Linked DNA regions of Homo sapiens: regions 1, 2, 3, 4, 6 and 7 are each linked to region 5. Evidence: promoter capture Hi-C in 16 types of primary human blood cells and fetal thymus (Javierre and others, 2016). All regions are on one chromosome and are shown on one strand. The core of a region is centred on a gene start or on the middle of the fragment in contact, and the rest is flanking DNA. Distances in the headings are between cores, read along the strand shown.

Region 1 (3,299 bases), core at 114-2,613, 400 kb after region 5:
TGGTCTGACTCACTTTAGCTTTGGCAATTCCTGGTCATTGCTTGTGTGTGTCCCTAGAGAACAGAATGAATTAAGGAGTCACCATCTAAGGTGTTTTCAACAGAAAACACTTTGGCAAAAGCTTATTTAGCTAGTCTGGGATTAATTTTCTTAACCAGTTAGAACTTCAAAAAGAAGGGAATGAGTTAATAAACTCTTCGCAACATCCCTGCCCCCATACTCCCATCTAGTATGGTCTTCTGAGTCTGCACATGGCTGGGGCTCTTCTTTCCACACGTGTACTCTGAGCCCTAGAAACACTTAGGCTGTGAAGCACAATACACTTGTTTTTTTCTTTGGGTCAGTTCAAATTGATCATGCCAACTCTTCCCATTCCCTCCTCTTTGCTTCCAATGTTTCCTTTCTCTTTTGTTTTTCAGAAGAAGGTAGAAGAATTTGGTAGACAGAGAGAGAGAGAGAAAGAGAATGTGTGTGCATTAAAACCAGACAAGGAAGCGGCTGGGTGTGGTGGCTCATGCCTGTAATCCTAGCACTTTGGGAGACCAAGGCGGGTGGATCACGAGGTCAGGAGTTCGAGACTAGCCTGACCAACATGGTGAAACCCCGTCTCTACTAAAAATACAAAAAGTAGCTGGGCGTGGTGGCACACACCTGTAATCCTAGCTACTCAGGAGGATGAGGCAGGAGAATAGCTTGAACCCAGGAGGCAGAGGTTGCAGTGAGCCAAGATCACGCCATTGCACTCCAGACTGGGCAAAAATAAAAATAATAAAAAAAAAACAACCTTAAAGCAAAAAGTCCTTGGAGCCAATACCAATTGATGACCCAATCAGAGATACCATTTCAGAATTACAAGTATAACCTTATTTGATTCTCATCACCCTCAAGTTCGCTGCGGAACTTGCCAAAGGCCCAAAGCTAGATAGTGGCAGAGCTGGGACTCTAACTCAGGTCTCAATGACTTCAAACTCATTTTTATGAGATTATGTGTCTCATAAGTCACCATGCCTGCTACCTCTTGTTTTACAGGTGAATGAACAAAGGCCCAGTGGACTGAGCAACTGGCTAAGGCACTCAGACTTTCTTAGTGGAGCTGAATAGAGAACACAGGCCCCTTTACTGTGCTGACTCATCTTTGAGATGATGATGCAATTCAACAAGAAAAGATTCAATGTGTACAAATTGGATTGGGGCAATTATTCAAGAACAAATTGTATAAAGTGAGCTACACCTCAAGCTCTTTGCTTTGCTTCCCATTTAGGGGCATTTCCTATGAGTCCTTATACAACTCTCTGTGGTGGTTATAACCTGGTATCAAATCAAATCAAAATCAGAATCAGTGCAGACAATCATTGCATGAGATTTGCTGTCTTCATGGAGGTTTTGTGTAGTGAAACATTGGGCTGACATCGCCTAGGGAATTTCATGTGAAAATTCCTCCCAAACATTTTTATTCTCAGAGTTCCTCTTCTTAGCACCACCACGGAGTAGGGATCTGGAGGGTGAAGTGAGGTTTTTTCTCTCTTTCCCCTTCTCCTGTCTTGCTCTCTGCCTCACCACTCACTGGCTCCTACCTGAACTTCCAGGTTAGTCCTCCACTCACACTTGGAATTTCTTATCCTTTTGCCCTGCAGAACACTTAATTGAACATATTGTGTTAGTTGAGCATTTCTTTGGGGTCCCAAGTTTTTCCCCAAGGGGTTTATCAGCAATTATTCTGAACATATACGGCACCTTCAATTTCCTGTCTTCATTTTTTTTCCCATAGATAATGTTATTATCCCAATTTTTACTAATGTTATTATCCCCATTTTAAGAAGTCTGAAGGTCAATTAGAGTAACTTGCCAAAAGTCACACTGCTAACACCTTGCACAGCCTAAATTCAAATCCATATTGGTCTGACTTCTAAAATTCTGGCTTTGTTTAATGACATTAACTCCCTAACTCATTGTATTAAACTCTTACTATCTGTGCTAATTTCTCAAATATTGTATAAAAGGAGTTGTCCTCTAAAAAGAACAATTGTAACAGCTTGACCTTTCAGGTCTCATTCAGAAGGTTCTTACAAAGACAGCTCTCTATTATGAATAATTTACCCTTCTCAAGGCTGAATTTCCTCTGATGATACTTGACCTTCTCCAGGCATGTAGGCCATCCAAATGTAGCCCTTAAGTCAGCTGGACACTGGGGTTCAAAGATAGTTTTGCCTTGTCCATTGCTCAGTGAAGCCATTCCTAAGTATGCTCCCCAAAACATTTATCCTATTATCCTCTTAAACATGAGATTCCACGGCTAAATACGTCAGAAAACTGAGAAAACAAAAATTAAGTTGGTGTTTCCCAGTTGCATTCCATTAAACACTGTTGTGTGAGCTGTTCATAGATCTGACAGTCAAAGAAAAAAATGAAAAAACAGTTTGAGGTTAAACAATTTTGGCAAAATATAAATACTCTAATTCCCTTTTGGGAGATTTATGATAAACATTAGCATATTAACGCTTCTGGCATGTCCTGCTAAATAGTTTGACTTGGTGCTTCGCAGATTTTTTAACCTTAGGATATTTTTTTTATCTTGCAGGACCAGCCCGCAACAGCCCACTCTAGAAAAGCTTCTGGTTTAAGTTCTCAGCTCCTGTATTTATTTTTATTTTTATTTTTATTTTTATACGGAGTCTTGCTCTGTCACCCAGACTGGAGTGCAGTGGCATGATCTTGGCTCACTGCAAGCTTTGCCTCCCAGGTTCATGCCATTTTCCTGCCTCAGCTTCCCGAGTAGCTGGGACTACAGGCTCCCGCCACCACGCCAGGCTAAGTTTTTGTATTTTTAGTAGAGACAGGGTTTCACCGTGTTAGCCAGGATGGTCTCGATTTCCTGACCTCGTGATCCACCTGCCTCCGCCTCCCAAAGTGCTGGGATTACAGGTGTGAGCCACCGCACCTGACCGGCATCTCCTATATTTTTAAGGGAGTTGACAAAGGGTCCTCTTTTGGGAATCTGGGCCTGGTCCTGCCATCTATTATTTGGGTGACTGTGAACAAGTCACTCCTCTCTGGGGCTCAGTTTTCCCATCTGTAAAATGAAGATAATATACCATTTGTCTCTAACTTTCCTTCCAATTCTAGCATACCATCACCTAAACATATGGAATTGATGGGGCTACACACCAGAACATCATGACAAACTGTGTGTTTATATTTTCTTAATCTCATCCTCTTAATTGAGGCCCAGAGAGGAATAACTTACTCACAGTCACTCAGTTAGTTTGATGGCAGAATCAGGCTTAGATTCCCAAAAGAAA
Region 2 (3,425 bases), core at 14-2,513, 380 kb after region 5:
GGGCACTGTCCAAGTCCGATATATTGACTACCTTGCTCCCCACTGCAACCCAGAGGCTTTTCGTAACAAGAAGCTAAAGTTGTGCTGCTATAGCAGCTGCTGATGATGTTTTTTAAGGGCTGTGTGCCCAGGGTGCACCCACTGGAGAGGCAATAGGAAATAAAAATAGCAATTTGTTTTCCTAAAGTTTAGAGGACAGTGGGGGAAAGCATTTTCAGCCTTGTCATCAGGGATAACATAGTTTTATATTGTGTGCACATAAGTCTAATTTTTGAAGACAGAAAATCATTGTGTAAGGCAATTCGATTTGAGAAAGAATGTTACTGATGGTATGCAAGAAGAACCATTGTTTCCAAGAATGAGCTGAGACACGTGTCAGATCTTTCTAATAGCCAGGTGTTACTATGGACCCCTGCCTAATGGTCAGTGTGTCGTCAGCTGCTGGCAACTCTTACCTTATAAAGACAAATATTGGGATTGTGCAGAGACTGAAGTGTGACCAGAGGCTGAGTGAGATTTGTTACATTTGGGCTATCGATTCTAATTCACAATTTAGTTTTTGAGCCAAGCCAGCCGTTAGTCATGTGGATTCTATAAAATGATTTATCTAAAATCTCTTTATCCCTGTGTTCCCTTTTAACGCTGTAGCCGCTTAAGCAACAGCTTTACACAAAAGGACATACAATTAGCTAGTAGCGAGTATAGCCCAACTACCCCTGTGCACACTTCAGCAATCAACTTGAAGCAGTACCAGATGAAGAGAGACAAGTCTTTTTTTCCCATCTTTCAAAGGTGGCTCTGATATCTGTCTTCCCCCTGTCCCCCCACCACTGCTTGGAGTATGATAGGACAACAGCAAGAGCTCACATGCCAAGTGATGCTTGAATTCATGGTAATTGCTCCTCCTTCCAAGTTCTGGGGTGTAAGTTAGAGTCTTTCATTGCAAGTTTCATTTTCAAAAGGCAGTGCAATCAATAGTGTTACTTTTCTGAGTCCCAAGTCTGTTGCTTAGTCTCAGCATCTCTGATGACTGTGGGTCTATTAGCATAAGCTAGAACTGTAAGTGGTGAATATTTTTATTATCTAAAATTACACTAGAACTGTTAGGCCGAAAGATTACAATTTGTCACTGAATGTGGATGTATGGAGAATTGTATGTAGAGTATATAAAATCTTTTCTATGTCTAATTTGCATTGCAAATTGAGAAGCTAACCAGAGGTCTTGAGGAAATAACATAAATAAAACATGGCTTCACTACTGTAAATGCTCAATTCATGCCAGAGGAGGCCGAAGCCATTACAGAAGGATTGTTTCCATCTAAACAATTCCCATCTCACACACTTCCCTTCTAAAGTGGCTGCCAATAGGACGGGAATTGGGTGGTTGGGGTAGGGGTGGGGGTATCCGTTTAGACAGCTTTAAAAAATACTCAGCAGAGAAAGCCTGAGAGGGTGTTTCTCAAGAAAGCCAAAGTCAAGGCTCAATCCTGCATCTTGTTTTATGTTGAACATCCTCACAACTGAAGGAAAGACAGCAACCTGCTCTTCAGTTTCAGCCCCAAGGAACCAGAGATCTACACAAGGTCAGTAATCAGACAAAGCTCATTACTAAACGTTTAGGGAAAAATTCCATAATATGAGGCAGATGCCTTGGTTAGTTTACAGACAACATTCAGGATCTCTCAAAATGTGAACTTCAACTTCAGTGGATATTTGTTATATTTCTGCACAGCATTTATGCTCTCTTCTTGTGACAACAGCACCCCAATTCTACTTTGGGGTCTATCTCTTCATTATTCTACCTGCATGTGCTTTGCGCCTACTTCATAATTTCCAAAGCCTGAATATGTGGTTTAGACATCTGTGCAGTCTGCCCTCTAGTGATTGGATCAGGATCAACAGGGACCAGCACGTGACTGAAATCTGGTCAATGAAATTCATTTCCTGTTTTTTCTGGAACTGTTGGAGAAGTGGACTGTCTCAGTCGCTGAGCTTGGTGCTTTGTGTAATGAGATGATTGAGGCTTGGAGCTGCAGCCAGAGAACAGAGCCAATGGGACAGAAGCCAAGTTGAGAGGCCAGAAGAAAGACACAAGGTGCCTAACTAAACATATGGTTTAAAGCCTTATATACCTGGGGCCAGCCCTATTTTGTGACTGCTTGATGAGGCAATACATTCTCTTGTTGCTCAAATCACTTAGACTTTCTGTGAGAGATCTAACGGCCATATGCACCTTTCTCACCACTGTCCTTTCACATCTCACCATCTACCACTTCCTTCTTTGGAGCCGCTGTAAGTGAACTTGGCTTAGCCATGCAACCCTGTGTTCTCATGAGTCCATGCTTTTGCTTATGCTACCACTTCATTAGGAATGCCCTTGCGTTCTCTTCTTTTCCTCAAGGCGAAATCCCACTAATCACCTTTCATGTTCAACCCAATCACCTTCTCTGTAAAGGGATTCCTAATGAAGTGGTAGCATAAGCAAAGGCATGCACTCATGAGACCACAGGGTTGTGTGGCTAAGCCAAGTTCTCTTCATTCATATTTTTCCCCTACTCCTCTCAAGGCAAAATTTAAAACTTGCCATGCTGTGTTCATATAATCGTTTCCCTTACCCTATAAACCCTTAACACTTTATGCAAATACTTTTTGAGACTGTCTGTCTCTCCCATGAGGCTTTAAGACTGGGGACTATGTTTATTCAACATTCAGAGGCAGGAAACATTGTTACGGGCATGAGCTGTCTTTGGATGCAGACTGCCTGGGTTTAAACACTGGCTCTGCTGCTTCCTAGGTGTTTGGCTTAAATATATTATCTACTCTGTCTGTGCCTTGGTTTCCTCATTTATACAACGAGGGATAATGTTAATACCTATTTGTCTTATAGGTTAGTTGGGAGGATGAAATGACTTAATGCATGTGAAGTCCTTGATACTGTTCCTGGAAGATGGTAAAATTTCAATAAATATTAGCTATTATTATTATATTTCTAGTTTCTAATAGTGCCTGATGTAGGTACACAAAAATATAAATGTAACAATGAAAAGAAGGCTTAAATTCTTTAAGTCTTATATATTAAGTAGAAAACAAAGGGAAAAAAAGAAATAACTTAATCTTTATAATTTTGTTTTCTTAAATTCATGTGTTCCTATGAGAAATCATGAATCATTAAAGGAAATTTGGCTGATTTGGGGAGATTTGTTCATATTCATTCATTTGGTGCAAAAACTTCTATTAAGAGGGCATTATGATTGGACTTGAGAGTTAAAATTAAGATAATATCCTTACTTTCAAGAGGCTCATGGTTTAGTAGATACATTTGACAGGTAAATAAGTAACTATAATTGAGTGAATGTGCAACAACAGAAGTATGCACACATACCATGAGGGCATAGAGTAATGTTTCCTGAAACTGCTGTACATAA
Region 3 (3,570 bases), core at 1,002-3,501, 450 kb after region 5:
AGCAAGATGATGAACCCACCAGAAGGAAGAAACAACTCCGGATGTGCCATCTTTAAGAGCTGTAACACTGACTGCGAGGGTCTGCGGCTTCACTCCTGAAGTCAGCAAGACCATGAACCCACAACTGGACACATCTGAACATTAGAGGAAAAAACTCTGGACACACCATCTTTAAGAACTGTAACACTCACTGTGAGGGTCCGCGGCTTCATTCTTGAAGTCAGGGAGACCAAGAATCCACTGGAAGGAACCAATTCCGGACACAATAGTCCATAAGGTTAATGTAATGAAATGCTGAATCTTAAACTAAACTCTTTAGAAAAGCAAGAAAAACCTTTGGATCGATTCTTCTTATTTATTGAACATCAATGAAATAAATGAACAGTACCTCCCAAAGAGGCCAAGGATCACTCCCATTTATGTTGAGGGACAAAAATATTTGTATAAAGAGGAAGCAGAGAATGACATTCATTGGATCTTGAGAGGGAAGCCATGGTTTGTGTAAATGTAGTGACTAGTTGTCAAATTTTTTAATAAATTAGTGCTCCCAACTTATGGACTTTTTGTCAGGCTCTAGTTTCTTTAGAAAGCCATGTGAGATGAAGGGATAGGGGGAGGAAACACAGGCTTATGAAGGTCTATGCATAAAACATTTATGAATAAATGTTAATTTATTCATAAAATATTTTAATTCATAAAATATTTATGAAACACCTTATGAAGGTCTATTCATAAATCTTCACCCTGGTGTCTATGCTGTCTTTCCTCATGCCTGCTACTGATCACTGTTTGTCCTAACTCAATAGGACTTTCCACTGTTTGCCAACATACTCTGTGAACCTACTCCCTTCTGCATAGGTTGAGATGTTTATCTATATAAAATGGGCTTCCATGCTTCTTCATATCAAAATCTTATTCATGCTTTGAGATCTAGCTCAAGAGTCACCTCTTCTAAGAGGCCTTCCTCAACCCCACCCCCCACTCCTATGTCCCTGTGGTTGTTACAGAGGAGTCAGCCTCATTTAAGGCACACCTCAGATGTTTGAGGGTTTCTATTCCCACACATCATCTTTGATAAGTTCTTTACATCCCACTGAAGGAGCTCAACTCTAGTTTCTGTTTTGTTGATTGTCAAACTTTAATCACAGCAAAATAACAGAAACTTAGCTTTTGGCCAGAGAACCTGATCATTCTGCTACTCAGTTCTTATGAAAAGCATCAGTGTGGGAAGTGATATTCACATCGTCCTTAGATTGCACCGTTTGGGCCTCTTTACTGATCTATGCTTGAATGGTGTGTAATCTATCTGAACTAAGAAATATTATAAAAATGATCACCATAAAATCCATTGCTGCATTACTTTTAGAAAGCTCTTAGAAAAAACTGGCCATGTGCTTTTATTACCTGCTGGAGAAATTGTTCTCATGATTGAAGATCAAGAAAAACTACACTATTTATAAGCAACTGGTGAGCTTTCATCATGTTGATAGCAGTGAATTCTGTTCTGTTTTCCTCTTTACCCTGGCTTGGAAAAAGCTTGGAGTGAACATTGAATAGAATGTTTTGATGTGCATTTTAATGCTGATCCCATTCCTGGCTTCACATTATTTTCCTAATTTTATTTACTTTTTAGTCTCACCTCTATTTTTTTCCCTTTTGCCTATATACTTCTGTAAGACACTTTAAATCCTTGTATGAATGAGGTAGGGGATACATACTTAGATAATTCATATTTCTTTGAAAGCAGATAATCTAAATCCTCTTTGTTTTGAAATTCTAATACTTAATCTAGAACTTGACATGTTGTATACAGTTTTAAAAATAATAAGACGAAGGATGAGGTGGAAGGAAAGATTAAGTTTGCTGGCAGAGGTATCTACATCCTACTTTTACATCTAGACAAATGATGGGAAAACTCAAGTTTTTTTTAGGACATGCAAGCTACACCAAAAATTTTAGAAAAACTGAAAACCTAAAGATATCACTTCACATGTTTTCAATTCATTTTAATATTGCACAGACTTTAAGGTTACATACAGATATTTGGCATACATAGACATGGCTACAAATTCAACAACTATCCCAAGTGTAAAATTATTGTTAAAGTGGTTATTTCCTAACTTTCTGAGGCACATTTATACATATTTATATATATACACACACACATACACACACACACACACACACACACACACACACACATATATATATAGGACCTGGAGATAATTTAAGCATTTTTTATACTCACTATAGCCATTCTAACACAGAGGTGTTGTGACTATTAAATGAGATGAGAATGCACTTTGTAAAGTTAAGAATCTTAATCAAGAGCAAAGTGAGGTGTGCGTACTCATAAATACACACTTTACAAGGGCATTCATTTATCTGTCAGAAGGAATTTCCAATTTTTGTGGTTGACATAAAAGGGCTATAAATATGGTGCATAAAAGCACACATACACAAACACAAACCCAGCAATACATAAAAACAAATAACAGTTGTTACTGAGTACATGAACTACTTAGAGTCAGCTAGACTAGTGATCCCCAACGTTTTTGGCACCAGGGGCCGGTTTTGTGGAAGACAATTTTTCCACAGACTGGGGCAGGGTGGAAGGGGGAATGGTTCGGGGATGGTTCAAGTGCATTACATTTATTGTGCACTTTATTTCTATTTTTATTGTATTGTAACATGTAGTGAAATAATTATACAACTCACCATAATGTAGAATCAGTGGGAGCCCTGAGCTTGTTTTCCTTCAACTAGATGGTCCCATGTTGGGGGTGATGGGAGACAGTGACAGATTTTCAGGCATTAGATCCTCATAAGGTGTGTGCAACCTAAATCCCTCTCATGCAGTTTTCATAGAGCTTACACTTGTATGAGAATCTAATGTCTTTGCTGATCTGAAAGGAGGTGGAGCTCAGGCAGTAATGCAAGTGATGGGGTACAACTGTAAATACAGATGAAGCTTCACTTTGCTTGCCCGCCGCTCACCTACTGCCCTCCTGCTGTGTGGCCCAGTTCTTAACAGGCCACGGATCGGTAGTAATCTGTGGCCTGGGAGTTGGGGACCCTGATCTAGACTCCTCTATGTGTCTCACACTTACTCCATATCCAGTTGGTTCACACATCTGGCCACTCCCAACCTACTCTACAGCTGCCACCCTGGACTGAGCTGCTTCATGGCCAGACTCCCACCATTGCTCTCATCCCTGCTCAAACATTCTTCACACAGAAGCCGGGGTTATCCTTCAGAAACCTGACTCAGGCCTTGGCACTTCTCTACTCAAAACCCTCCAGTGGCTGCCCACGTCACTGAGGGAAAAAGCCAAAATCCTTGCCACGCTCCCTTCCTGTGACCTTTCTGGATGCCTTTCCGACTACTGCCCCTTCTTCAGCCCACTCCAACCACTTGGCCTCTTTACTGTATTTTATATGTCACAGGCACACTCATGGCCTTTGATTTTGTTCTTCTTTGTGCCTGGAATGCTCTTATCCCAAATTTTCACATCGTTTATTTTCTCATCTACTCCATGTCTTTGCTTATAATGTCACCTCAGTAGGACC
Region 4 (3,637 bases), core at 401-2,900, 360 kb after region 5:
TATACTGCCATTCCCTCTTCCCTCCTTTGTGCTATTACTGTCCTATATATTAAATCTATACATGTTACAAACCCAACACTACAGTGTTAAAATTATTGTTTCACACAGTCCTATGTCTTTTAAAGAAATTGGGAAAAAGGAGAAAAAATATATTTTATGGAATCTTTTATACTAACATAGTTATCATTTACAGTGCTCTTCATTTTTTCCTGTGGATTTGTGCTATCATAGAGTACCATTTCCGGAAGGCCTTCCTTCCTTTGGTACATCTTTTAAAACAGGGCTGCTAGCAATACATTTGCTCAGTCTCTGTTTATCCAAAAATGTCCTTATTTTGCCCTCATTTTTGAAGGATAGTTTTGTTAGATACAGAATTCTTGTTTGACATTATTTTCTTTTTGCAGTATGGATGTGCTATTCTTCTTCCTTCTGGCATCCATGGTTTTAGATGAGAAGCCAGCTTAATTGCATGGATGCTCACCTTTCTATGGTGCGTGCTATTCTTCTTGCTGCTTTCAAGATTTTCTCTTTGGATTTGGCATACAACAGTTTGACAATGATGTGTTCAAGTGTGGATCTATTTGTATTTATCCTGCTTGGGTTTCTTTGAGCTTCTTGGGTGTATAGATTAATTTTCTAAAAAATCAAATTTTGGAAGTTTTGGCCATTATTTTTTCAAATAGGTTTTCTGTCCCTTTCTCTTCTCTCCTTCCGACATTCCCCTGACATGGTTGTTTCTGTGCTTGAGCTTGTCCCACAGGTTTTTGAGGGCCTGTTAATTTTACTGCAGTCTGTTTTCTCACCATTCTCTAGATTGAGTAATTTCTATTGATTTATAGTTCACTGATTCCTTGTCTCTCAAATCTGTTGTTGAACTCTCTAGTGAAAAATTTTAAATTACCATTATTGTACCCTTCAGCTACAGAATTTTCACCTGGTATTTTTAAAATAAATTCAATATCCTTATTAAGAATCTATTTGTTGATCTCTTGTTACCCCACTTTTCTTTAATTCTTTAAACATGGCTTGCTTTAGTTCTTTGGAAATATTTATAATAGCTGCCTTGAAATTTTTGTCCACGAATATTTGGTAACACAGAGTTTCTATTAACTGTTTTTCTTTTCTTGAGTATGGGTAACACTTTTTTTTCTTAAAAATGGGACATTTAAGATAACACATTGCAACGACTCTGAATTCTGATATTTTTTTTCCCTTTATGGTGGTTGTTGCTGGTATTTTGTTTGTAACTTTCCTGGACTAAATCTGTGAAATCTGTTTCCCCTAGGCTACTAATGCCTATGCTAGTCTAAAATATATATACATTCCTGATTTTATTTATTTATTTATTTATTTACTTTTTTTTTGTTTTCGAGACGGAGTCTTGCTGTGTCACCCAGGCAGTGCAGTGGTGCAATGTCAGCTCACTGCAAGCTCCGCCTCTCGGGTTTATGCCATTCTCCTGCCTCAGCCTCCTGAGTAGCTGGGACCACAGGCTCCGATTTTATTTTTAAACTTGGCTTGCTAGAGGTTGCTCCTGTGTCTGTATAGCCTTAGTGGTCAGCTAATGATTGAACATCATTTATGTTCAAACACCTTAAACCACTAAGATTTCCATCCTTTGCCCTTTTTCACCTATTTTCAGGTAGAGGAGCATATACAAAGTTCAGGCTCTTTTCAAGCTCCCCTGAGTCTGATATCTGCTGGACCTTTTTGAGTCTCCTATGCACATGCATTGAGACTTTGGGTAAACCAGAAGCATATAAAGGGCTTCTGTCTCTTCAGTCTCCACTGCCCATATGCACAGCCTCAGCCAGCAATATGCTGTCTCTGATCACAACTGCAACTTCAGGCTGATGGAGCTGATGGCCCTCCCAACTCACTCCCATCCAAGATGATCATTTCTATTGACAACTTTGCTTGGTGTCTGCACTGCCCAGCTCTTCAAACTGGTTGAGTCTCCTTCAACATCTACAGAGAAGCTACTGGTCATCATGGCTTGCTGTACCTTGGCAGAACCTATAGGCTGGGTTGAGGTGGATGAGAGGAGCCCTAGGTCAGAACATCTCAGATTCCCAGTGTTCCTGAGTGATGTCCCATGATTTTTAAAAAATAAACACGTCTCAGGTTGTCATAGGCCTTTGGCTGATTTCCAGAGCACAAATAGTTGAAGTTTCCAACTTTGCACAGCTCTATCATTGCATTTTGGGAAGAGGATTTACCCAACCTCCTCCTAGAGTCATAGCTAAAAGTCCACTCTTTGCCTTGGGTTTTGACTCGTCTCTCTCTTCTTCCTTCATTTTCCCCTTTCACACACTTAAGTCCAACACTTGCTAGTGGCTCTAGAGCAATAAAATCTTTCTTGCACATATAAGATAACTTCAGCAACAGATTATATAGTACTATTGATATAAACCACGCAGATTAACTTGCGGCAAGTAAAAGCATTCAGTGAACTCTCTAAACACCGCTTGCCATCTATCCTTAGGCTTGTGGCCTTTCCTGCAGGCAAGGAGTGGTGGATATCTGATGCTGCCTGCATGCTGTTACACCTGTCACAACTCTAGCACACATCACTAAATGACTGCAACTTTCTTCCCCACTAACCCTAGACATGGTCTCAGAATCTTCCTCAGACAGAACTCCAGGCAGCCATTATATGGATCAGAAGATGAGACCTTGTAGCCATACTTTCTTCTTTTTTTTTTTTTTTAGATGGAGTCTCACTCTGTCACCCAGGCTGGAGTGCAGTGGTGTGATCTCGGCTGACTGCAACCTCTGCCTCCTGGGTTCAAGCGATTCTCCTGCCTACTCTCTCCTGTTCCCTGAGTAGCCGGGATTACAGGCACCTGCCACCATGCCTGGCTAATTTTTGTATTTTTAGTAGAGACGGGGTTTCACCATGTTGGCCAGGCTGGTCTCCAACTCCTGACCTCGTGATCCACCCGCCTTGGCCTCCCAAAGTGCTGGGATTACAGGCCTGAGCCACCACACCTGACCACCTTCAAGTCCCCAAAGCTGAAATGTATAATTCATCGCACTATCTGCTGTGCTTCCACATATCAGTCAAGGCTTGGGGTTGGTTTCCTGAGGAACATGTCTTTTTTTACTTGTGCCTCAAGCTCAGCTCCTGTGACAGTTTTTCTTCTGAACCTTTGCACTTATTCCTTTGGTGATTTCATCGATTTTCATGATTTTAAATCCCATCCATTTATTGGCCCTTTTTAGGTTTATATATATATTTTTTTAGATCAGATCTCTCCCCCAAACTCCAACTCTCTACATGCCATCTCCACTTGGAAATCTAAAGGACACCTCTAAGTCACCATACCCAAAACTGAACTGTTCCCACCTGGGGCCTCTTCCACCTATAGGCTTTTTCCATCTTGATTGATATTAATTTATCTGCTCAGATGCTCAGACCAAAAAAAAAATCAAGTTATTCTTAATTCTCTTCATTCTCTCTCATACCATCAGGAAATTCTGCTGGTTTTACTTTAAAAATGAATCAGAACCCTGTGCCTTCTTACCACGGTCACTGCTACCATCCTAGTCTGAGAAATACCATCTTTCACAGGACTATTGCAACTGGTTTTACTACTTCTAACTTTGATCTCTCATATTCCATACTCAACATGGC
Region 5 (3,619 bases), core at 703-3,202:
GTTCTCCTGGAGGCCTGGTCTGGCAGATACTGCTCCGCCTCCCTGTCTCCCTTCCTCCCACTAGATGTGACCCCTTTACTCCATTTGCTCAAAGAAGCACTAACCCAGGAACCATCTAACCATCTATTCACTCAGTAGATACTCCTTGAACTCCTACTATGTGCTATGGAGGAGCAGTTGTGAACCAGAGGGAAGCCCCTGCTCTCGTGAAGCCTGCATTCCAGTGGGAATGATGAAACGCAGGCACACGGGACATTTCAGGTACCGGTGGGTGCTGTGAGGGTGATGATGCCATGGAAGATGGGTAGGATGGGTGGTCAGGGAGGGCCCTTCCGAGGATATGACAGTGAAGGTAAAGAAAGAGCCAGTCACGTGAAGATCTGGGGAAAGAGTGTTCCAGGCAAGGGAGCTGTGAGTTCAAGCGTGGTAGGATAAAGAGACCGGGTCATTCAACAAACATGAAAGGAGAGAGTGTGGCAGGAAAGCGTGGTGTGAGATGATTAGAGAAGTGTGCAGTCCAGAGCTAAGAGTTCATAATAAGAAATTTGGATTGTATTCTAAGTACAGCTGGAGGATTTTATGTGGATGCTTGACATATTTTGGTTTATGGTGGTGGTGGGAAGGTCACTCTAGTTGCTGTGTGTGGACTAGGTTGTAGTTGTGGGGAGGAATGGGAGCGGGAAGGGCAGTTGGAGGCTTCTGCAGTGGTTAAGGTGAGAGATGACGGTGGCTTGGACCAGTGTAGTTATCAGTGGCATGATGGCAATAAATAGATGGGGTCACGAGTTTTTCTGGAGGCTCTGGAATTTGGTGGCCAGGTCTTATGTGTACAGAGAGAATCCGCCCATGGATTCAGTGTGGGCAAGAATGGAGTGAGGGAAACTGAGGATGGCTCCTAGGTGTTTTATGGGTTTTAGGTTTTGGCTACCCTCAAATCTAGAAAAATTTGGCAATTTCGGCTCACATAATATATCAGCCTTTTTCTGCCTTGAGGATTTTCTCATTAGCTATGTCTCTCCATGAGCCTCTCATCTTTTCTATGCTCTGGGCTTTCTCTTCTTATGTTCTCTGTTTTGTGGGCTGAATATTTTTGAGCAGGGATGGCATTATTTAGAGCTTTTTATTGGTAGCCTACTGAGTGCTCAAACCTGTGCTAGTCCCTATAGGGAATATGGAAAGACTTCTTGGAGCCATTATTATGCTAGTGTCCATTGTGATGCTCCTGGCAAGGGCATTCTCCTATTCCTATGACCACAGAGCTTCCCCTTCCCCTTTGCCCTGAAGATTCTCTCATGGGACTAGTGTTTCATTGAATAACATGTTGGTTATGTGTAGCATGCTGGTTACGTGTAGCATGCTGGTTATGTGTAGCATGCTGGTTATGTGTGGCATGCTGGTTACGTGTAGTGTGCTGGTTACGCGTAGCATCCTGGTTATGTGAGGCATGCTGGTTAGGAGCTCTAGGCTCAGGATCTTGATTCTGCCCTCTTTGGTTGCATGAGCTGTGCAAGCTGCTTAACATCTTTCAGGCTAACTTTCTATATTTGTAAAATGGGAAACAGACTTCTTAGGAAGATTTTAAGAGATGTCTTACAGGACCTGGCAGATATATGCTCAATAAAAAGTAAACTAGCTGGTGTTGCTGCTGTTGCTCTTACTGTTGTTTTTATTGACTTGAATAAAGGAATCTTGCACCTGTCAAAATGAAACACTACATAGTAGGTCCTGATATTTTGCCATACTCAGCTGGTGATAAGAATCAGAGAAGCCAGCCATTTGAATAACTATGATTTATTGAATTCTTACCATGTTCTAAGTTCTTTATGTATACTGTTTCGTTTAATCTTCACAACAATTCTAGGAGTCAGGTTCAATTGTTATTGCCATTTGATAGATGATGAGGGCAATGAGTCTTAGAGAGGTTAAATAATTTGCTAAAGGCCACACAGCCTGTAAAGTGGCAGAAGCTGGGACCATCCAACTCTAAAGCCCACATTCTTAGACATTAGGGGATATTGAATGAAGTGTGTGTATGTATGGGGGAATTTAAGAGAATATCAAACCATTTGTAGAGTTCTACCCAATATAGAGACCTTATCTAATGTAAGAGAACTCTGAAGACATCTCATTGATTGAATGCTCTCCCCTTCATAGCAACTTCTTCTGCGGCTTCCTTGCCTGGTGCTCCAGTCTTTGAGGTATGCTTGATGGTTCTGAATTCAGATTTGAATCATGTGTCTGCCTGGTTTTTGTACCCTTGGACAGCAAACTTAATCGCCAAGGCTCAGTTTTCTTCCCTTTTTTTTTTTAAAGTGGTTATAATGGTATCTATGCCACAGGCTTGTGGTAAAACTTAGTCTGATGAGATCTGATACATGCTGATGTTTATTGGGCACTTAATATTATTATTAGTGAAACCTGGCTAAATATAACTCTTTGATGAATGTATGTAATTTCAGGGAGTTAGTTTTACTAAAGTACTTGAAAATGTTAATTGATCTAGGATACTTTTATTTCATAGACAACGTATAGGTAAAGTCAATAACAGTTATTTTAGATTTTGTGAATTCTAGGGTAGTAGCATTAGAATGGAAGTTTTATTTCTTTTAATTGGACTACAGCCACCATTCCATAAATCTACTGCACACCTTAAGTCACCCAGTGCTCTTGCATTCATCTTTGTTCATTGCTTGGATGTCAAGCAGTCTGCCTGGAGCTGCTTATAGAGGCCTAAATTTAGAATCTGCCTACCTATAAATAAGGTCCAGAAAGATAGATGACTTCGGTCACCTGAAACTGTTATTAGAAAACACATAGACTAACCTATCAAGGGAATGAGAGGGAGGACAAGAGAGGTAGGCCTAGGGAGAGGGAGGACAGAGCTTAAAAGGAGGGGTTGTGATGGATTGTTTAGCACCTGTAAACAAAGAACTGTGCCTGGGGCTCTCCTGGCTGTTGGAAATCCAGCCCAAATGTTCAATGACTCACTCAATCGTTGTTCAGCTTGTTTAAGTCCATGCCATTTGTACATATGATGGGATTTTATGAGACATTTTACAACAATTCCCCACCAGTGTTTGGGGAAATCATGTCATAAGATTCAACCTTCTTTCTTTTTCCATTCTGAGATGGTTTCTCCTAAAATAGCTTTTATGTGCCCTGAGCAGTTGGCTACTCTGTTTCTACTAAGAAATACAGGCTGGCCTCACTGAGCAGGAGGCCCTTGCATTTGATTTTCAGAAGAGCACATGTATTTGAAAGGATTTCATTGTCCTTTGTGCCAGGAAGCAACAATGTCTGAGTCAGACTCTTCTGGGTGACCAAAAGAAAGACTCACCTTATTGTTTTGTTATTCTTTATAGGTGGTTAAGGGTATAAGCTTTGTAGTAAGATGCATTTGGATTCATGCTCTGCCTTCATGTCTCCCCAGCTCTTATCTTGGGCAAGTTAGAAACCTCTTGGAACTTATTTGTCCATCTAAAAAATGGGGATGATAACGTCATCTCATAGGTTTGTTGTGAGGGTATTTAAAATACTTAGCAGTGCCTGGCACAGAGTTAACCCCTTAATAAATGGTATTGATTATAAGTATGAGGCTGTCTTCTCTGCCTCACCTTTC
Region 6 (3,827 bases), core at 1,277-3,776, 340 kb after region 5:
CCAAGATCTGGTCCTAATCTATACTTCCCAATTCAGAGCACACCTCTTCTCTACACATAACAAAGTTTTGCTACACTGGAATCAGTTTATTTCTAATTATTTTCAATGCACTAATTCTCAAATTGTGGTATGAGCACCTCTAGGGATCCCTAAAATTGCTTTAGGAGGTCCATAGATCAAAACCATTTTCATAATACGAAGATGTTATTTGCTTTTGTAACTCTCATTCTCTCATGAGTGTACAGCAGGGTTTCCCAGGCACTCTGTGATATGCGATATTACAACAGACTGCAGAAGCACATATGAGAACCTGTCTTCTATTAAGCCAGATGTTAAAGAGATTTATAAAAAACATAATGTAATGCTACTCTTCTATTTTGGGGGATATATATAGTAATTTTTCATAAAAGCATGCCATTGATGTTAATATGTAATGAGTTTATTATTGTTATTTTTAATTGAATTAATAAATAATTTAACTGTCAATAGACATTAACCACATTAATTAAAGAACTTTGAGGTTCTCAATCATTTTTAAGGTTATAAGGTGGTCCTCAGACCAAATAGTTTAAGAAACACTGTTTTTTTTGTTTTTGTTTTTGCTTTTGTTCTTTTCTTTCTTGCTTTCTTTCTCTTTTTTTTTTTTTTTTTTTTTAGAGACAGAATTTCACTCTGTTGCCCAGGCTAGAGTGCAGTGGTACAATCTTGGCTCAGTGCAGCCTCTACCTAGCAGGTTCAAGTAATCCTTTCACCTCAGCCTCCTGAGTAGCCGGGACTATAGGTGCATGCCACCACACCTGTCTAACTTTTAAATATTTTTTGTTGAGATGGGGTTTCGCCATGTTGCCTGGACTGGTCTCAAACTCCTGGGTTTAAGTAATCTGCCACCCTTGGCTTCCCAAAGTGCTGGAATTACAGGTGTGAGCCACCATGCCCAGTCAAAAGAACCACTGTTCTAATGCTTAAGAGTACATGCTTTAAAATCAGATTGACCTGGAGTTCAAATCCTAGTGATACTGATAATTTTTTTGACCCCAGGAAAGTTAAAGTTGTATCAGAATACTCAGTTTTCTCTACAGCAAAATGGGGATAATAATTATTGACCTTACAGGGTAATATGAGCAAAATGCTTAAGCCAGAGTTGGCACACAGTACCAAATGGTGCCAAATGATAGATTCTTCCCATTTCATGACTAACATAATGATCATTATATTGTCATCTTCTAAACATGCTCCGGGGTTTCCTGGCTCAGAGTAATTAGTGATATTCTTGTCTCTGCAGGGATTGTCCTCTCAGAGACTTGTCTAACTACTGAGAGCCAACTGTAGTAGGCTAGTATTTGTAGAATGCAGACATCACTCTCTCTCTCACTCCTATAGAACCAGAAAGACCAAAGTATTGTATTTGTTCTTGAGTTTCTAACTCATGAACTGTAAGAGTCTGGTGCCTAAGAAGGAGAAAAAAATTTTTGAAGATCAAAATCTTGCCTTTAAATACTGATCCACAGTTCCTAAAAGTATGAAAGGTCAGTATTCTGGGGAAGAAAAAGGAAAGAATGCAAGTTTATTATATAAGAACATTATTATAAAAGGAGACCAAAGTTTGACCAAGTGGCAGAAAGTAGGAAATCAATAGGCTTAGTCTAGAGATTAAATATCTACTCAGCCTCTCATGAGGCTTATCAAGCCCAGTCCTGGGGTAGGAGGTAACTAATGGAACTAGAGGAAAGTTGTAGAAAATTCCACAGGCAGTATTGGGAGCGTGTTCCCCGAGTCCTAAAGTATAGCCCAGAGAGGTTGTAAGCTTCTTGGAGAAACCTCATGTCTAACCAATATGGTGCTTGAGTAATGGTTGTAACCACTGATCATACAGACTGGCTGAAGACATCTGCTTGAAGTCCTGTAGCCTCAGTATAGAATGAAAGAGACTGCTAAAAGTAGCTTCATCTCCTTGAGAGAAAAGCAGAAACAGTTAAGAACACAGTGATGAACCCAAAGGTGCCAGGAGTCAAAATGAGGGCACGGACATGGTACTGGAGGTCATGGTAACACCACATTTAACAGCAGCAGGTTAACATTAACATGAGGAACCAGATACAAAAAAGTCACACCCAAGCCAAGACTGGGAGAAAACATATACAAAACATGTTTGCTAAGGAACTTATATTCAGCCTATTTAAAACAACTTTTACAAATCAATAATTAAAAGACAACCTGATAAAAATGGGGGCAAAATATCTGAACAGAAATTTTACCAAAGGATATATATGAGTGGCAAATAAGCACCTGAAAATATGCTCAACATTATTAGTCATTAAGGAAATGAAAGTTAAAACCGCAATGAAATACCATTGCATCTCTACTAGAATTGCCAAGACTAACTATGTCAAGTGTTGGTGAGGACATGGAGCAATTGGGACTCTCATACTTTGCTGGTGGGAGTGGAAAATGGAACACTGGAAAATATTTGTTATTCCCCTATAAAATTAAACACACACCATTCAATCCACTCCTGTATATTTATTAGGAAGAAATAAAAACATATCTCAATCTACTCCTCTCCTGCATATTTATTAGGGAGAAATAAAAGCATGTCCACACAAACATTTGTACTTGAATGTTCTTGTCTTAAGTTTGAAATTTTTAAATTTTTAAATTTTTATAATAGAGATGGGATCTCACTATGTTGACCAGGCTGGTGGTCTTGAACTCCAGGCCTCCAGTGATCCTCCAGCCATGATCTCACCTTGACCTCCCAAAATGTTGGGATTAAAGACATGAGGCACTGTTCCTGGCCTGAATGTTCTTAACAGCTTTATTTATAAGCCAAAAACTGGAACAGCCCAACTGCCCACCAACTAGTGAATGGTATAGTACATCTATACAATGTAATACTACTTAGCAATTAAAAGGAACTCACTCCTATTAAATACCCTCTAAATAAATCTCAAAATCAATGTGATAAGTGAAAGAAGTCAAACAAAAGGCTAAGTGCAATCTGATTTTATTCATATAACATTATAGAAAAGACAAAACTATAGAGTCAAATGGCAGATCATTGGTTGCTAGTGCCCAGTGGTGGTAGGTTGGGATTGATTTCAAAATAGCAGGAGTCAGCTTTTGGGGATGATGGAAATGTTCTCTGTGCTATCCAGTATGGAAGCTCCCAAGCCACATGTAGCTACTGAAATTTTAATTACATATAATTTAAATTAAATAAAATTTAAATGGAAATAAAAGTTATAATGGAAAGCTTGTAAGCAGGATTGAAACAATTTGGACATTTGAACCTATTTTTTCAGCTGTGAATTTTATAAGTTCTAAATAAAAATTAAGTATTTCTAGTAAAGATATATTGTCTGAGTTGAGATATGTTGGAAGTGTAAAATACACAATAGACTTGAAAGAATGGATGTGAAAAAAGACATAAAGTAGCTCCTTAATATATTCTTATATTGATTCCATAACAAAGTGATAATATTTGAATATATTAAGTTAAAGAAAATATATTATTAAAATTAATTTCACCTGCTTCTTGTACCATTTTCCATTTATTTATTTATTTATTTATTTATTTATTTGGAGACAGAGTTTCACTCTTGTTGCCCAGGCTGGAGTGCAATGGCGCGATCTCGGCTCACCGCAACCTCTGCCTCCTGGGTTCAAGTGATTCTCCTGCCTCAGCCTCCCTAGTAGCTGGGATTACAGGCATGCGCCACCACGCCCAGCTAATTTTGCATTTTTAGTAGAGACGGGGTTTCTACATATTGGTCAGACTGATCTCGAACTCCCGATCTCAGGTGATCCGCCTGCCTCGGCCTCCCAAA
Region 7 (3,811 bases), core at 27-2,526, 420 kb after region 5:
AAAATCTGTTGTATTTACCCACATTTTTGTATATTGCCTTTTTTCTTCCTTCCTCATAAGGTAAGATTTCTTCTTTTATAATTTTTTTTCTCTTTAGAGGATTTCTTTTAATCATTCCTTTAGGGTTGATTGGCTGATAACAAATTGTCTTCTTTTCCAACATCTGAAAATGTCTTAATTTTCCCTTTATTCTTTCTAAACATTTTTATTATAAATTAATAATTTATAACTAAATGTATTTATGTGGTACAAAGTAATATTATGATTTATGAACACAATATAGAACAATTAAATCAAATTAGTTAACATATCCATCCCCTCAAATACTTGTCATTTTCATAATGAGGACATTTGAAATTTACTCTCTTGGCAATTTTGAAATTTACAATACATTATTAACTATATTAAACATGCAGTGCAATAGATCTCAGAAAAAGACCACCACCCAACTTATTTCTCTTGTTTACTGAGACTTTGTATGCTCTGACTATCATCTTCTCATTCCTCCAACCTCCCACGGTCTGGTAACCATCATTCTACTCTCTGCTTCTATGGGTTTGATCATCTTAGATTCCACATGTAAGTGAGAACATGTATTTTTCTGTGCCTGCCTTATTTGACTTAGCATAATGTTCTCCAGTTCCATCTATGTTGTCACAAATGATACTTTTCTTCTTTTTATAGACTAAATAGTATTCCATGATGTATATATGCCATATTTTCTTTATCCATTCATCTGTTGATGGACACTTAGACTGATTCCATAACTTGGCTATTGTGAATAGTGTGGTAATAAACATGGGACTGCAGACATCTCTTTGACAAACTGATTTTAATGTCTTTGTGAATATCCAGAAGTGGGATTGCTGAATCATATGGTAGTTCTGTTTTTAACTTTTAGAGGAAGCTTCATACTGTTTTCCATAAATTTACGTTTCCACCAGCAGTGTACAAGGGTTCCTGTTTCTCCACATTCTCACCAACACTTATCTTTGGCTTTTTTTTTTAATAAAAGTAATTCTGACAGGTGTGAGAGGATATTTCTTGTGGCTTTAATTTGCATTTTCCCAGTGATTACAAATGTTGAGCATTTTTCATATATCTGCTGACTATTTGTATTACATGCCTTCTTTTGAAAAATGTCTATTCAGGTCCCTTGCTCCTTGTAAAATTCTGTTCTTTGTTTTCTTTCTATTGAGTTGTTTCAATTTCTTATATATTTGGGATATTAACCCTTTATCAGATGTATAGTTTGCAAATATTTTCTTTTTCTTTTTTTTTTTTTTTTTTTTTGAGACGGAGTCTCACTCTGTCAACCAGGCTGGAGTGCAGTGGTGTGATCTCGGCTCACTGCAACCTATGCCTCCCAGGTTCAAGCAATTCTTCTGCCTCAGCCTCCTGAATAGCTGGGATTATAGGCATGTGCCACCATGCCTGGCTAGTTTTTGTGTTTTTAGTAGAGACAGGGTTTCACCATATGGGCCAGGCTGGTCTCGAACTCCTGATCTCGTGATCCACCTGCCTCGGCCTCCCAAAGTGCTGAGATTACAGGCGTGAGCCACTGCACCTGGCCTTAGTTTGCAAATATTTTCTTCTCATCCATAGGTTGTCTCTTTACATGGTTAGTTGTTTCCTTTACTGTGCAGAAGCTTTTTAAGTCTAATATAATCCAATCTGTTTATTTTTGCTTTTGTTATCTGTGTTTTTGGGGTCAAATTCAAAAAATTATTGCCTAAACCAATGTCATGTAGTTTTTCTCCTATAATTTCTTCTAGCGGCTTTGCACTTTCTGTTCTTATGTTTAAGTCTTTAATTCACTTTGAGTCAACACCATAAAGGCCATATAGGATAAGCCCACGGCTAACATTATACTCAAAAATAAAAGATGAAAAGTCTTCCCTCTAAGATCTTGAACAAGACAAACATGTCCACTCTCACCACTTATTATTCAATGTAGTATTGAAAGTCCTTTGTCAGAGCAATTAGGCAAGAGAAACAAGAAAAGGCATTTAAATAGAAAAAGAAGAAGTAAAATTGTCACTGTTTGCTGATGACATAATTTTATATAAAAATCCTAAGACTCCTTCAAAAAACTGTTAAACTAATTAAAAAATACACTAAAGTTGTGGGATACAAAATCACAAAAATTGGTATCATTTCTATACAAAAACAACAAACTATACAAAAAAGAAATCAAGAGAACAGGAAAAGGTAGAGCAAGATGGCATAATAGAACCCTCTGACAAGTATCCCCCAACAAGAACATCAAATTGAATAATAATTCATGTAAGACAACACCTTCACAAGAACTAAAGAAATCAGGTGAGAGATCATACTACCTGATTTTACCATAATAACAAGAAGAGGCACATTGGAGAGGGGAGGAAGGACAGTCCCACATTGCCTGTACACTGCTCCCCCAAACTTGGGCAGTACAGCACAGTGCAGAGAAAGAATCTATCAGTTTGGGAGAGAGAGAGAAAAGTGTGTGTGAGACTTTGCATTGGAACTTAGTACCAACTTGCCACAGAAAAATACAACATGGAATAGAAACCTGCAGCCCTTGATTCCAGGCCAATGTCCACAGAGGGTGTACTTAGACCTATCCCTGGCTAAAATGGAATCTGCTGCTGCAGCTGGAAGAAACTGAGCCCTGAAACACTTCACCATTGGCTGACTCAAGTGTCCTCAGGTCCTGAATAAATTGCAGCGGAAGGCAAATTGGAAATTCAAAATAGCTATTTTGAAGATGCTCAACAAATTTCAGTAAAACACAGAGAAGCAATTCAGAAATTTATCAGAGAAATTTATCAAAGATATTGAAGTATTAATAAAAAAACAGAAATCCTGGAGTAAAAAAATATGGATGAATTGAAAAGTACAGTAGAGGGTCTCAATAGCAGAACTGATTAAGCAGAAGAAATAATCAGTGAGCTTGAAGACAGGCTATTTGAAAATACACAGTCAGAGAGGGAAAAGCAAAAAGAATGCAAAAGGACAAAGAACACTTATGAGCTATATAAGATAGTATCAAAATAGCAAATGTAAGAGTCATTGCCCTTAAAGTCGGAGTAGAAAAAGAGAAATGGGTGGAAAGCTTATTTAAAGAAATAATAACAAAAAACTTTTCAAAAGAGAAATATATAAATAGGTAGGGGAAGCCCAAAGACCACCAAGTAGATACAACTCAAACAAGACTATCTTAAGGCATATAATAAACTCTCAAATGTCAAAAACAAAGGGAGGATCCTGAAAGCAGCAAGAGAAAAGAAGAAAACAACAGATAAAGGAGCTCCAATATGTCTGGCAGCAGGTTACACAGCAAAAACCTTATAGTCCAGAAGGGAGTGAAATGATATATTCAAAATGATTTAGAAAAGCCCAACAACTGAGAATACTATATCTGGCAAAGCTATCCTTAAAACATGAGAGAGATGTAGACTTTCTCAGACAAACAAAAGTTTAAAGACCTCATTACTACCAGACCTGACTTATAATAAATACTAAGGTGGGATCTTCAATCTGAAGGAAAAAGACACATGTGCAACAAGACACATGTGCAACAAGAAAACATCTGAAGAAATAAAATCCACTGACAAAAGTATATACTGTAACCACCCATATCTTTAGTGTAAGTACCAAAAGATAAAACTACTAAAAATAATAATTACAATGATTTGTTAAAAGATAAGCAATATAAAAAGATGTAAACTGAAATATCCAAAAGACAAAATGTAGGGATAAGATGAGTTAAAGAGTTTTATTTTTTGTTTCTTTTATTGTCTTTGCAATTAAAGTCAGGTTATCATCA

Evidence for each region. Contacts are between HindIII fragments. The CHiCAGO score rates a contact against its expected background, and 5 or more counts as called.
Region 1: a contact is called between a fragment that was not itself captured here and the fragment with the promoter of PPP2R2B-AS2 in region 5, in 16 of 17 cell types (total CD4 T cells, total CD8 T cells, naive CD8 T cells and 13 more). The highest score is 36.6, in total CD4 T cells.
Region 2: a contact is called between a fragment that was not itself captured here and the fragment with the promoter of PPP2R2B-AS2 in region 5, in 14 of 17 cell types (naive CD8 T cells, naive CD4 T cells, total CD8 T cells and 11 more). The highest score is 17.6, in naive CD8 T cells.
Region 3: a fragment that was not itself captured here is called in contact with the fragment with the promoter of PPP2R2B-AS2 in region 5 in 5 of 17 cell types (naive CD4 T cells, naive CD8 T cells, total CD4 T cells and 2 more); the score reaches 7.8 in naive CD4 T cells.
Region 4: a contact is called between a fragment that was not itself captured here and the fragment with the promoter of PPP2R2B-AS2 in region 5, in 5 of 17 cell types (total CD4 T cells, naive CD4 T cells, naive CD8 T cells and 2 more). The highest score is 6.3, in total CD4 T cells.
Region 6: a fragment that was not itself captured here is called in contact with the fragment with the promoter of PPP2R2B-AS2 in region 5 in 6 of 17 cell types (naive CD4 T cells, total CD4 T cells, total CD8 T cells and 3 more); the score reaches 8.6 in naive CD4 T cells.
Region 7: a fragment that was not itself captured here is called in contact with the fragment with the promoter of PPP2R2B-AS2 in region 5 in 12 of 17 cell types (total CD8 T cells, total CD4 T cells, naive CD8 T cells and 9 more); the score reaches 16.2 in total CD8 T cells.

Annotation. Positions count from the first base shown.
Region 1 is chr5:146,961,881-146,965,179 of GRCh38, forward strand. It overlaps a transcript of PPP2R2B not described here. Among named protein-coding and RNA genes, the nearest start is that of PPP2R2B-IT1, 44 kb to the left of the region's middle. The HindIII fragment of the contact is 2,488 bases long and covers 120-2,607 here.
Region 2 is chr5:146,945,489-146,948,913 of GRCh38, forward strand. It overlaps a transcript of PPP2R2B not described here. Among named protein-coding and RNA genes, the nearest start is that of PPP2R2B-IT1, 28 kb to the left of the region's middle. The HindIII fragment of the contact is 4,830 bases long and covers 1-3,425 here.
Region 3 is chr5:147,007,698-147,011,267 of GRCh38, forward strand. It overlaps a transcript of PPP2R2B not described here. Among named protein-coding and RNA genes, the nearest start is that of PPP2R2B-IT1, 90 kb to the left of the region's middle. The HindIII fragment of the contact is 1,435 bases long and covers 1,535-2,969 here.
Region 4 is chr5:146,925,043-146,928,679 of GRCh38, forward strand. It overlaps a transcript of PPP2R2B not described here. Among named protein-coding and RNA genes, the nearest start is that of PPP2R2B-IT1, 7.4 kb to the left of the region's middle. The HindIII fragment of the contact is 7,230 bases long and covers 1-3,637 here.
Region 5 is chr5:146,561,274-146,564,892 of GRCh38, forward strand. It overlaps PPP2R2B-AS2 (PPP2R2B antisense RNA 2), which reads left to right and starts at 1,953. Exons shown (of 6, transcript NR_188288.1): 1 at 1,953-2,198. The HindIII fragment of the contact is 13,845 bases long and covers 1-3,377 here.
Region 6 is chr5:146,902,758-146,906,584 of GRCh38, forward strand. It overlaps a transcript of PPP2R2B not described here. Among named protein-coding and RNA genes, the nearest start is that of PPP2R2B-IT1, 15 kb to the right of the region's middle. The HindIII fragment of the contact is 1,449 bases long and covers 1,803-3,251 here.
Region 7 is chr5:146,983,746-146,987,556 of GRCh38, forward strand. It overlaps a transcript of PPP2R2B not described here. Among named protein-coding and RNA genes, the nearest start is that of PPP2R2B-IT1, 66 kb to the left of the region's middle. The HindIII fragment of the contact is 742 bases long and covers 906-1,647 here.